Regions from separate parts of the Homo sapiens genome. Here region 2 is linked to region 1. Evidence: promoter capture Hi-C in human tissues and cell types (Jung and others, 2019). All regions are on one chromosome and are shown on one strand. The core of a region is centred on a gene start or on the middle of the fragment in contact, and the rest is flanking DNA. Distances in the headings are between cores, read along the strand shown. Region 1 holds the start of TEX261 (testis expressed 261). Region 2 has its middle 35 kb from the start of TEX261.

Region 1 (6,794 bases), core at 3,567-6,066:
ATAAAAGTGAGACTTCTATGTTACATAATCCAAAGCATCATGACGATGAACCTCGTTTTTCGTGGATGTGAGGGCTAAAGAAAGCTCTCCCACAGTGACAGGTGGGGAGAAATCATGGGTGTGCAGACCAGACGCCCCTAAGAGGCTCTACTCCAAACTCGCAGCAAGGAGAAGGCCTGCTCAAATAAACAAACTGGGCAGCAAGGAGAAGGCCTGCTCAAATAAAAAGGCTCTCACTCCTCAGGAATAAAAGGGCAAGACTTGCTAGATGCTTTGAGGTGCAGTCTTCAGGTTCCTCAACATTCTGGGGGAGGGGGTCCCTCCTCATCCTGCCCCCAGGTAAGGCATACCGGTGTGAACTGATACGTTCTGGACACACACACACACACAGCCACCCCTCCTTGGTGTGTAACTGAGTTTATAAAAGAGGGCACGTGTGCATATCCTGGACACAGGCTGCTCAAGAGACAGTCATCCCTGCCGGTTCCCATGGTGAGGTGAAGGGCAGGCACCAGAAAGAACATGTCCCCTGAAACTGACTGTCCCCTCACACACACCTCACAGCAATTCTCATGTCTCCTTTCTTCTCTCCTGCCTCTCCCATTCTAAGGCAAAGACTACAGTTCTGCTATGCCTAGCCACACTCTAGGGCTAAGAGATAATGGGAGGTAGGATAGTGCCTGGTGCCCACAAGATCTTTTGGAAAAACTCTTTTAGGCATTAAAGGGCAGATCAAGGGAGTGAAGTCAGGGGAGCCTGCTGCTGAGGGGCTGGGGGCAGGACTTCTTCCCTGGACAGAGGGGCCTGGTCTCCATGGAAGGGCTCCCTAACAAACCTCTGCTGAACAAATTCTTTGGTGAAATCACACCCAAGGAAGAAACCAGTTTTGGCTTTAACAATATGCCCTTTGTGTGGATAATATTCACCCTCCAGGCTCTCTCATAGAAATAGAAAAGTCACTCTAAAAAACCCCTAACTCCATCTGATACCCTGACTGAAAGCTAGGGTAGCCAGCAATGATGAACAGGAGCAATGGCAATCTTGGCAACCAAAATACTTTCCGAAGCCTTTTCCAGGAATATCTGTAAATACCTATATGCACCTACTATATGCCCACTGAGTCTCCCAATAGTTCTTTCAGAAACATCCTCTCTGAATAGATGGAGAAGCTAAGGCCCAGAGAGGGCCAATGATTCCCCAGGGTCAGAAAGTGGTGGCAGGGCAACGCCAAGAAGACTGGGTCCTCCACATCCAGGCTCAAGCCCGAGGCAGCGGCAGCCAGTGAGAATGAGATGAGAAGCTGCAGCCCCCAGGAGGCATTCACACCAGGCCAGAGTCTGCAAGGTGCTCACAGCCCCATGAGGCTCCAGTCCTAACAATGACTTTGGGTCAGAGGACTGGACGGACAGCTGCCTGCCTACCGGAAGGGCTTTGGGCTTTTTCTGGCCAAGTGGTTTTTTTGAGGCTGGAACTGCTCAGTTGGGGGCCCTGCCTCAGCCAATCCACAACCTCTTCTTTCCCAAACTCTCCTTCAAACTTACCTCTCTGGGAAAGCCCTCCCTGTCTGAGTCCCCAGCCCCAACAAATTCTATTCACTAGAGCCAAGGTGGGCTCTAGAGTCCTCAGCAGTAAGAACCGCATCTTCCCAACTAGCCTGGCTTCCTGGAGGACTTCAACAGCTGGCTTCCTTTTTCTGTATCCCCTTTAGTGCCCAGGATGGAGATGGGCACACCCAACCACATCAGCTGCCTCCCCAACTCTGTCCCCTCTCACCACACGACAGGATGAAGTTAGGCGAGGTCAGCATGATGAAGGGGAAGGTCTGGAGGAGGCCAAAGTAGACGAGGTTGGTGAATAGGCCCACTCCAATCATGCTGGTGGGGAAGCGCTCAAAGACGTAGAGGCCAATCAGTACAGCGGTGGAGAACTGAAACAACCAGAGGCAGACAGTGCAGGGCGCTTCTTCCAGGCAACGTTCCTGGACTCACCAACCCCCAGCCCGCTCTGGGCAGCACTAGGTTCATGCTTCAATCTCCTCATTTCACAGGTCTGGCCTCCCCAGCTAGGTTCTCTGCTCCCAAAAGGCAACATTTTTTTTTTTTTTTTTGAGACGGAGTCTCACTCTGTCATCCAGGCTGGAGTGCAGTGGCGCGATCTCCTGGATTCAAGCAATTCTCTTGCCTCAGCCTCCTGAGTAGTTGGGACTACAGGCATGCACAACCACGCCCAGCTAATTTTTGTGTCTTTAGTAGAGACAGGGTTTTGCCATGTTGGCCAGGCTGGTCTCAAACTTCTGATGGCCTCCCAAAGTGCTGGGATTACAGGTGTGAGCCACCGCACCCAGCCCATTTCTCAAACTTTTTGACAGCAACCCACAGTAAGAAAAACATCTGCCAGGCGAGGTGGCTCACGCCTGGAATCCCAACACTTTGGGAGGCCAAGGCAGGCAGATCACCTGAGGTTGGGAGTTTGTGACCAGCCTGACCAACATGGAGAAACCCCATCTCTACTAAAAATACAAAATTAGCCAGGCATGGTGGCACATGCCTATAATCCCAGCTACTCGGGAGGCTGAGGCAGGAGAATCGCTTGAACCCAGGAGGCAGAGGTTGCGGTGAGCTGAGATTGTGCCACTGCACTCCAGCCTGGGTAATAAGAGCGAAACTCCATCTCAAAAAAAAAAAAAGAAAAAGAAAAACATTTTACACTGTGACCCCAACACATATATACATATATATGATTCAAAGCTCAAATTTCAATTCTATTTATGTTCCTTTTTTTAAAAAATGCTGATTGTGACCTACTATACAGCCAAATAATGAATCATGCCTACAGTTTGAAAAACACTACTGATAAGTACCTACAGTTGTCAGTGCTTAGCAAATGACAGTTGGCTGAATGAAGGGCTAATTACTGTGCCAACACCCACAAGCTGGGCCTCTGGACCAGAGCTGAGGGCTATAGTCTTGCCTCCACTGTGAACTCCCAACCTCAGCCATGCCCAGAGTGCACATGGCTGCTGACACCAGGCGACTTGAGGGGCTGTGGACGCTTTCTCTCCAATGGCACCCCTACCCCCAGCCTTTCCTGCAGCTGAAGGAAGTCTGTCCACCAGCAGTCACCCCTATGGCTTTGATATCAGTGGCAAGGACTGTGTCTTCAGTAAGAGAAGCCTCCCATGAGACCAGGGAAGGGCGAGGGCAGCGAAGCTGTGCCGATCTTAGGACAAATCACTTGATCCGATTAGAAAGATGGCAATGAACATATATGCAAAACTGTCTTATGGCTCCTCTAAGTTTTAAATGCTGTGAGCAGAGCAAAGGGCTAAAGACAGCGGGAGAGAGCTAAGCAAAGTCAAATCTACGGTCTTGTCAACAGAGAAGTACACTTCGCTGTCACCTTAAGGACTAGAGCACAAGGCCTGCAGTGAAACAATGCCACTTGGGGAAGGCGGCCAGGGAAGATCTGGGCCCAGGAGTGCAGACCCAAAAGACAGCGTTCAGGGCAAGGAGGTAAGAGTGTATGCTCAGGAAACAGCAGAGACACAGGCCTCATCATCCATGCCAAACTCTCCCCACTTCCTGCTTTTGAGGCAGGGCAAAAGAGTGAGGAGGACTCCTGGAGAAAGATGCCACTTACCCAGATCATGTATTTTATGATCCTGCTGGTGGCCACTGTGTATTCTTCTATCAGTTCTGCCAGGTAATAGAGTCCAGCCGCTGCAGGGTGGGAGGCAGGGAGACTATCAGCCAGGGTCACTCCCACCATCCTGGTCACCCCTCTCTCTGCAGCCCAGTCCCCATCCACCCTTCATGGACCCCAGAAGGTCAAGAACAAACCAAACATCCCATGTGTTGCCCTTCCAAGTCTGGAGAAGTAAAACTTTCTTAGGGCAACTAAGGACAAATCTCATAAAAATCAACGAAAGTCTGCATTTGATGCCACAGTACAATGATAACCTCTGGCTCAGAAAACGGAATTTCACGTATTCAATAAACACCTGCTGGGCACTTGGCATGAGCCAGGTCCCTGGGCTGAGAATACAGCTGAAAAAGACAGACAAGGGTCCTTCCCTGACCCAGCTTGGGAAAGGGAAGGGGAACAGTAGGGAGAGACAGACGAGTTTAGTGTGAGAAATGCTACTTTAGGGAAAGGACAGGGCACTGCTGGACCATCAACCCCTGTGGACTTCCCGGAAAAGATGACATCTCAACTGAGGCCGAATGGGAACCAGCCAGAGGAGAAGTGTCAAAGGTGGAGAGAGCAGGGAGCATGAAGGGCCAGAGGCGCAAAGGCGGCGGTAGGCGTTGGGGAAAAGTTCCGCGCGGCAGGCCCGCGAAGAGTGGGAGCCGCAGCGGTTAGCGGTCCGCAGACGCGGGGGCGGCACTCGAGTCACCCTTTCTCGGGCAGTGCCGGAGCGGACTCTGTGACACCTGGAAGGAGCCACGGTCAGGCCGGGCTGCCAGGCTCGACAGGAGGGGCAGGATCAGGCGGGAAGGGGTTGGGGCGGCGAAGGCCGGGAGCGCCGGGCAGTGGTCCCCCGAGTGGCTCCGAAACCCCCGCGATGCGACCCCCAACGAGCACCGATGCCGGGGCGGGAGCCCGCGCGGGCCGGGGTCGTGCAGTCTCACCGACAGCCAGCGTGATGAAGGCCACCTGGATGAAGAGCGACAGCCAGCTCAGCAGGTACATGAACCACATGGCGCCCCCACCCGCCCGCTCCCCGGCCACCGGGACGGGCCTGCGCGCTTCGGCTCCGGCGACACACAGCCGCCACCGCCGCCGCCGCCGCCGCGTCCCCGCCCCGCGGACGACAGGACGACGGTGCGCCGCCGCCGAGAGGAGCCCGGCCCTAGCGCTGCCCGGGGCCAGGCTCGCGCTAGCGCCGCCCGCCGGAGAGGAGGGCCAACCGCCGCTGCCCCGCCAGGATCCCCCGCTCCACTGAGGGGAATGAATGCAGACCGCTGCAGCCAGAGGGAGGCGGGACGGTGCCCAGGGGCGGAGACGACCAAGCGCCCATACTGGGGCTCGGAGTGCAGCCTCCAGTCCCTCCCTGTGCACTCCCGTACCAGCCTGGAGGTGGTCCAGGGCCGGACAGGGCCGCCCGACCGCGCCCCAGCAACCTCCCCAGAACCTGCCTCCCGGCAGGTTGCGGACAAGTCTGTCTCTTGCTATCGCAGGTGATAGGGACAAAATTATTGAATTCCTAATATGTGCCACGCTCTGTGATAAAGGCGAGGTGTGTTCTTGTCGGAAATTTGAGCAGATAATGTAAATCATTTTATAGACGGGGAAGCCGGGGCCAAAGGAAGTTGCCCTGGGTCATGCACCTAGGAAGCGGCACAATCAGGAGTTGGGGTGATTTTAATCGGTCATCCTCCGGCCTAATTCCCCTCTAGGCTGTTCTTTTGGGGTACATTCTGCACCTTTGTATCGCCTGCACCTCACCCCTTGCCGGGCACGCAGGGCGTCCGCTAGGCGCTGGATGCATTTACTACACCTCTGGGAGGGTTCCTGAGGGGCACCTGGAACCGGTTAGTCCTTGTCAACAAGTCTCCCATCTAGTGGCGGAGACAGGCATGCAAAATAAAGTATGTAGAACAAGAGTCTAGTAGGCTTATTTCAGAATCATATTTTTCCTGCATAAAAATACGTATTCCTAAAAAAAACAATTACCGTATGATTTAGCAATTCTACTTCTGGGTATATACCCAAAAGAACTGAGAAAGCAGAGACATTTGTATACCAATATTCATAGCATTATTCACAATGGTCAGAAGAGGGAAGCAACCCAAATGTCCATCGGTTGACGAAAAGATAGACATAAAGTGCTATAAACATACAATGGAATATTATCTAGCCTTAAAATGAAGTGAAATTCTGACACATGCTACAACATCAATGAACCTTGAAGGCATGATGCTAAGTGAAATAAGCCAAATAGGGAAGGACACACATTGTATGATTCCCCTCATATGAGGTACCCAGAGTAGTCAAAATCATGGGCAGAAAGTTAAATGGTGCTTGCCAGGGTCTGGGGGACAAAGAATGGGGAGTTACTTTTTAATGGATACAGGGTTTCAGTTTGGGAAGATGGATGGTGCTGATGGCATCACAACAGTGTGAATGTGCTTAATGTCACTGAATTGTATACAGTGTTACAGAATTGTAAAATGGTTAAAACGGTCAATTTTATGTTATGCATAGCTTCCCCCTCCCCCCAACAAAATACATAAGATTACAAAGCCCATCCTGGCTAACACGGTGAAACCCAGTCTCTACTAAAAATACAAAAAATTAGCCGGGCTTGGTGGCGGGCGCCTGTAGTCCCAGCTACTCAAGAAACTGAGGCAGGAGAAGAGCGTGAACCCGGGAGGCAGAAGTTGCAGTGAGCCGAGATTGCGCCACTGCACTCCAGCCTGGGCGACAGAGCGAGACTCCGTCTCAAGAAAAAAAAAAAAAAAAAGATTACAAAGCAGGCTGGGCACAGTGGCTCATGCCTGTAATCCCAGTACTTTGGGAGGCTGAGGTAGGAGGATCACTTGAGGCCAGGAGTTCAAGACCAGCCTGGGCAAAGAAAAATTTTAAAATGGCCAGGCATGGTGGTGCGTACCTGTAGTCGCAGTTACTCTGGGCTGAGGCAGGAGGATTACTTGAGTCCAGGAGATGGCGGCTGCAGTGAGCTATGATTGGGCCACTGCATTCCAGCTGGGATGACAGAATGAAAACTTGTCTCAAAAAAAAAAAAAATTGCAGTTGCCGGGCGCGGTGGCTCACGCCTGTAATCCCAGCAC
Region 2 (6,794 bases), core at 1,716-4,215, 35 kb after region 1:
ATCACAGGGTGTACACCCACTGTGATAACAGGAGTAATACGTCCCAAGGATACTAATAATATCACAAGGCCGTACACCCACTATGACTCAGGGAGTGATATCTCCCTAGGATGCTACGAATACCATCACAGAATGTACACCCATGGTGTGCACCCACGGTGATATTAGGAGTAATGTCAACCCAGGACATAACCAATAACACCACAGGGAGTACAGACATGATGTACACCCACGGTGAAGTTACGAGAACTATCTCCCTAGGATAATACCAATAACATCACAGAGCGTACACACATGGTATACACCCACTGTGGCACTAGGACTAATAACTTTCTAAGATAGTACGAATAGCATCAGAGAACATAAACACATGGTGTACACCCAGTGTAACTTTAGGTGTAATTTCTCCCTAGGATGTTACGAGTAACTTCTCAGTGTGTACACACGTGGTGTACACCCACTGTGACATTAAGGGTAATATCCCCCTAGGATATGACGAGAAACATCACAGGGTGTCCACCCATGGTGTACACGCACTGTGATGTTAGGAATAATATCTCCCTAGGATATTATGAATAATACCACAGGGTGTACAGAAACTGTGATATTAGAGGTAATGTCTCTCTAGGATATGATGAATATCATCGCAGGGTGTGCACCCACTGTGATACTGGGAGCAATATCTCTCTAGGATAGTATGAATAATATCACAGAGTGTACACCCACTGTGATATTAGGAGAAATATCTCTCTGGGATATTACGAATTATATCACAGAGTGTACACACATGGTGTACATCCACTTTGATATTAGGAGTAATATCTTCCTAGGACATTACAAAGAACATCGCAGAGTGTACACCCACTGGAATATTAGGAGTCGTATCTCCCTAGGTGATTACAAATAATATCACAGGGTGTACACCCACTGTGATATCAGGAGTAATATCTTCCTAGGTTATTACGAATAATTTCACAGTGTGTACACACATGGTGTACACTCACTGTGATCTTAGGAGTAATATCTACCGAGTAGATAACATAGAACATCACAGGGTGTACACCCACTTTGATATTAGCTGTAATATTTTTCTAAGTTGTTACAAATAATATCACAGGGCGTACAAACAGGGTGTACACTCACTGTGATATCAGGAGTCGTATCTCCATAATATATTATGAATAATATCACAGGGTGTACACCCACTGTATTATTAGGAGTGATATCTCTGTAGGATATTACAATTAATACCCCAGGGTGTGCAGCCACTGTGATATTAGGAGCAACATCTTTCTAGGATATCACAGACAATATCACAGGGTGTACGCCCACTCTGATGTCAGGAGCAATATCCCCCTAGGATATCCAAAATAATATCACAGGGTGTACAATCTCTGCCTTCCAGGTTCTAAGGGATTCTCCTGCTTCAGCCTCCCGAGTAGCTAGAGTTACCCGCCACCAGGCCCGGCTAATTGTTTTTTATTTTCACTAGAGATGGGGTTTCACCGCGTTGGCCAAGCTGGTCTGGAACTCCTGACCTCAGGTGATCCGTCGGCCTCGGCCACCCAAAGTGCTGGGATTACAGGTGTGAGCCATGGCGCTCGGCCAAGAGTTATATATTCAATTAATTTGGAAACACAGCTCCCATATTTGAGTGTGCATGTACTTTTATGAAGAAATGATGTCAGAAAACCTAAGGATGATAATAAATATGAAAAGTAACTGGCATGTTAAAAGGTCTTCAGATAAAGAACTCTAAGCTTCGATTTCATTTTTAGATAATGCGGTCCTAGCTCTTGTATCATCCTTTTCCATATTCTACATCAAAGGAATTTGTCGCACGGTGTCAGAATAAAACAGAGTGTATTTCACTGCTTCTTAATTTCTTTCAATTAGGCTGACATCTTTTTCTTAAAGACAGAAGAGCATCTTCATTGCGTTTTATTCTTTCTGAAAAGAGTAGGCCGTATTTTACTGAGATCACGGATTTGTTATATATTATGTTTTGGTCTTCTAACATTCTTCAGTGGATTTTCTCTAAAGTAGTACATACAGAAGGAGTTGAATAGAAAACAGTAAATCATCATGGAATAATTCTGGGATTTTTGGGTTTGTCACAACTGAGAAATATTGCTGACGGTGTATGGTCCTCAAGTGTGAAAATGTTCCTTGTGAATTGCTTGCATCCAAAATATACACACAGCATTAAGGGCTGGTTTTTATCTTTTATTTTTCCAACCTTCTTTTCTTCCCAAGGTGTCCAAGTCACACAGAGCCACGGAATCTCACAGGAGCCTGAGAACTCCTCCTCCTGGGACTCTCAGAGGATCCAGAACTGCAGCCCATCCTCGCTGGGCTGTCCCTGTCCATGTATCTGGTCACGGTGCTGAGGAACCTCCTCATCAGCCTGGCTGTCAGCTCTGACTCCCACCTCCACACCCCAATGTGCTTCTTCCTCTCCAACCTGTGCTGGGCTGACATCGGTTTCACCTCGGCCACGGTTCCCAAGATGATTGTGGACATGCGGTCGCATAGCGGAGTCATCTCTTATGCGGACTGCCTGACACGGATGTCTTTCTTGGTCCTTTTTGCATGTGTAGAAGACATGCTCCTGACTGTGATGGCCTATGACTGTTTTGTAGCCATCTGTCGCCCTCTGCACTACCCAGTCATCGTGAATCCTCACCTCTGTGTCTTCTTAGTTTCGGTGTCCTTTTCCTTAGCCTGTTGGATTCCCAGCTGCGCAGTTGGATTGTGTTGCAATTCACCTTCTTCAAGAATGTGGAAATCTCTAATTTTGTCTGTGACCCATCTCAACCTCTCAAGCTTGCCTGTTCTGACAGCATCATCGATAGCATGTTCATATATTTCGATAGTACTATGTTTGGTTTTCTTCCCATTTCAGGGATCCTTTTGTCTTACTATAAAATTGTCCCCTCCATTCTAAGGATTTCATCGTCAGATGGGTAGTATAAAGCCTTCTCCGCCTGTGGCTCTCACCTGCCAGTTGTTTGCTTATTTTATGGAACAGGCATTGGCGTGTACCTGACTTCAGCTGTGGCACCACCCCTCAGGAATGGTGTGGTGGCGTCAGTGACGTATGCTGTGGTCACCCCCATGCTGAACCCTTTCATCTACAGCCTGAGAAACAGGGACATTCAAAGCGCCCTGTGGAGGCTGCGCAGCAGAACAGTCAAATCTCATGATCTGTTCCATCCTTTTTCTTGTGTGGGTAAGAAAGGGCAAGCACATTAAATCCCTACATCTGCAAATCCTGCCCCTTAGTCACATTATTTTTGTGGCTTGATGGCTTTTATTTCTTTCCGCGTTTCCTATGTGAATATTGTTTTCTTCGTTATGCCTTTAACTGGAAGGGGTGAGGATTCTGGGATCCTTTGTTTAGCAGAAACCTCATGACTGAATCCTCTATACCTAGGTGGCCTCCTTTAGTTTCTGAGCAATAACCCTGTCATCCAGGTGGAATCACAACCTTCTTTTTATATACGTGAAGTCCTCACTTCATTTTGGAATTCCCTGAAAATTGACTTTATGGAAGCAATGTACAGCAGGTCCTCCAACACCATTGGTGCATTCAAAGTTGTGTAGTTATAATGTTGGTGAGGAATAACTGGTTTCACTCTACCTAATTTTGCTTAAAGGTGAAGTTTCCAAGAGACTTCCAAAGATGTTAAGTGAGGACATACTGTATATCAAATTCATATCCTCTTCCAGAGTTCATGTGGAATTTCTTTATAAACTGCTTCTAGAGAATCTATTTGGGCAGGTTATGTGTAGAGATCCATGTCACTGGTCCTCAAGTTTGGCTTTGAGTCAAATCACCTGAGGAGCTTACAATTGATGAGGCCTGGGTCTCATTACCTGAGATTCTGATTTCCCTGCACCTGTGTGAGTATGTGGATTTTTTTTTTTTTTTTTTAAAGCACCAGAGGTGCTTGCAATGACAAAGTTTTTAGAGGCATCAAGCTCTAATGAGTAAGAACAGAAGTTAATTGTAATATGATTTCTTCAAATATTATCCTGAAATGCATTGTCCATCAACACCATACAAATGTTTATTATGCTGTTGTTTCTTACCATTTAGCATTTTCTATTTTTTTCTTTTTCTTTTCTTTTTTTTTTTCTTTTCCTTTTGAGGCAGAGTTTCACTCTTGTTGCCCAGGTTGGAGTGCAATGGCACGATCTCGGCTCACTGCCACCTCTGCCTCCCGTATTCAAGTGATTCTCCTGTCTCAGCCTTCCAAGTAGCTGGGATTACAGGCATGCGCTACCGTGCCCGGCTAAGTTTTTTTTTGTTTGTTTGTTTGTTTTGTTTTGTTTTGTTTTTTGGTATTTTTAGTACAGACAGTGGTTCTCCATATTGGTCAGGCTGGTCTTGAACTCCCAACCTCAGGTGATCCTCCCACTTCCGCCTCCCAATGTTCTGGGACTACAGGCGTGAGCAACCGCGCCCAGCCACCACTTAGCATTTTCATTTTACATTTGTTGAAATTATAGATTTATACACACTTTGATTGCTGCTTTGTTATACACTTGCATATACATAAGATGGGAAATAGAAAAGAATAAAACGGGCACAGTATCCCTGAAGTTTCACATTCCGAGACATGTTAAAAACATTTGGTTTTTAGAAATTTGTTTCAATTGAGAAACTGTGGTATACACACACAATGAAGTATTATTCAGCCTAAAAAGGAATAAACGAAATCCTCTCCACTGCAGACAAAATGGATGAGATTGCAGGTCTGTATGTTAAGTGAAATAAGCTAGGCACAGAATGACAAATATTTCATATCATCACTTCTAGGTAGGAACAGAAAAGAAAATCTTGGCCAGGTGTGGTGGCTCAGGCCTGTAATCCCAGCACTGTGGGAGGCCGAGTCGCACGGATCACTTGAGGCCAGGAGTTCGAGACCCACCTGGCCAACATGGTGAAACCCCGTCTCTACTGAAAACACAAACAATTAGCTGGGCGTGGTGACGCGTGCCTGTAGTCTCAGCTACTCGGAGGGCTGAGGCCCAAGAAGCGCTTGAACTTGGGAGGTGGAGGTTGCAGTGAGCCCGGATTGTGCCTGTATACTCCAACCTGGGCAACAGAAAGAGACTCCATCACACACCTACACACAAAAGGAATCTCAGGAAGGTGGAAAGTATAAGGGTGGTTAGCAGACGCTAGGAAGAAAAGGGGTGGGATGGGAAATGAAGAGAAGTGGATAATTGGGTCCCCAAATACAGAAAGATGGAATAAGTGAGTTCTAATGTTTGATAGTACAGTATGAAAATTTTAGTTCACAAGAATTTCTTGCATATTTCCAGATGCTTTGGTAAGAAGTTTCCTAACTTTCTCATTATGCTGGTTTTCCAGCTATTCTCTTTCTGCTCTCGAAATCATGCTGGATTTTTTGTTTTTGGTTTTTTGTTTTGAGACAGAGTTTCACTCTTGTTGCCCAGGCTGGGGTGTAATGGTGCATTCTTGGCTCACCGCAACCTCTGCCTCCTGGGTTCAAGCGATTCTCCTGCCTCCATCTCCTGAGCAGCTGGGATTACAGGCATGCCCCAGCACACCCAGCTAATGTTGTATTTGTAGTAGAGACAGGGGTTTCTTCCTGTCTGTCAGGCTGGTCTTGAACTCCTGACCTCAGGTGATCCGCCCGCCTCGGCCTCCCAAAGTGCTTGGATTACAGGCGTGAGCAACCGCACCCGGCCCATGCTGCATCCTTCTCTGTTGTCTGTTGTTGTTTGTTTGTTTTTGAGCCCAGAAATAACTTCTCACCTATATGTTCAAATGATTTTTCACATGAGTGCTAAGAAAGTCCATTGGTGGAAAAGCAGCCTTTTCGAGAAATGGTGTTGGAGAAACTTGATTTCCACATGCAGAAGAATGAAGGTGGACTCTATGTCACACCAGGTGCAAAAATTAACACAAACTGGGTCAAAGACCTAACCCCAAGTGCTGAAAGTATAATATGCCTAAAAGAAAACATTGGTCACACTTTCATGACATCAGATTGGGCAATGCTTTCTGGGATATGACACCAAAAGCATAGGCAACAAAAGAAAATTAGATTCCTTGGATGACATCTAAATGACAGACACTTTTGTGCATCAGCAAACACTGTGAACTGAGTGAAAAGATAACCCATGGATTAGGAAAAATATTTGCAAATCATATCTCTGAAAAGAGGCTGATATGCATCATGTACAAAGAACAGCTAGAACTGAACAACAAGAAACCCAAAGCATCCCATTCACAATGGTCAGAAGACTCGAGTAGACGTGTCCCTAAAGAAGATATAGCGATGGCCAATAAGCATCTAAAATGATGTTCAAAATCACTAATCATAGGGAAGCGCAAATCAAACCAAGAATGTGATACCACACATTTGGATGGATATGATAAACAAACAAGCATTGGTGAAACTAGAGGGAAGTAGGAATGCTCGAATCTGATTGGAGGGAATGTAAAACCGTGATGGAACCGGGAAAATAGTATGGCGTGTACCGGAAAAAGTAGAAACAGGATTAGCGGATGTTCCCGCAGTTGCGCTTGTGGGTACCTGCCAAAAAGAATTAGAAGCCAGGAGTGGAAGAGAGATTTGTACACCCAAATTCTTGGCAGCATTATTCACAACAGCCAAAACGTGGAAGCAACCCAAGGGTTCGTGGACAGATGAATGAAAAAGCACACTGCAGTTCATTCATGCGATGGAAGACTATTCAGCCTTAAAAAGGCAGGCACTTCCGGCCGGTGCGGTGGCTCACGCCTGTAATCCCAG

The links. Contacts are between HindIII fragments. The study calls those that stand out against the background at their distance.
Region 2: a fragment that was not itself captured here is called in contact with the fragment with the promoter of TEX261 in region 1 in 3 of the 25 tissues and cell types used here (adrenal gland, psoas muscle and stomach).

What each region holds. Positions count from the first base shown.
Region 1 is chr2:70,990,057-70,996,850 of GRCh38, forward strand. TEX261 (testis expressed 261) reads right to left here and starts at 4,817. Exons shown (of 6, transcript NM_144582.3): 1 at 4,632-4,817; 2 at 3,640-3,719; 3 at 1,774-1,927. The coding sequence starts at 4,701. RefSeq lists silencers at 4,389-4,478, 4,509-5,038 and an enhancer at 5,579-5,628. The HindIII fragment of the contact is 31,120 bases long and covers 1-6,794 here.
Region 2 is chr2:71,026,660-71,033,453 of GRCh38, forward strand. It overlaps the pseudogene OR7E91P. Among named protein-coding and RNA genes, the nearest start is that of TEX261, 35 kb to the left of the region's middle. The HindIII fragment of the contact is 6,692 bases long and covers 1-6,311 here.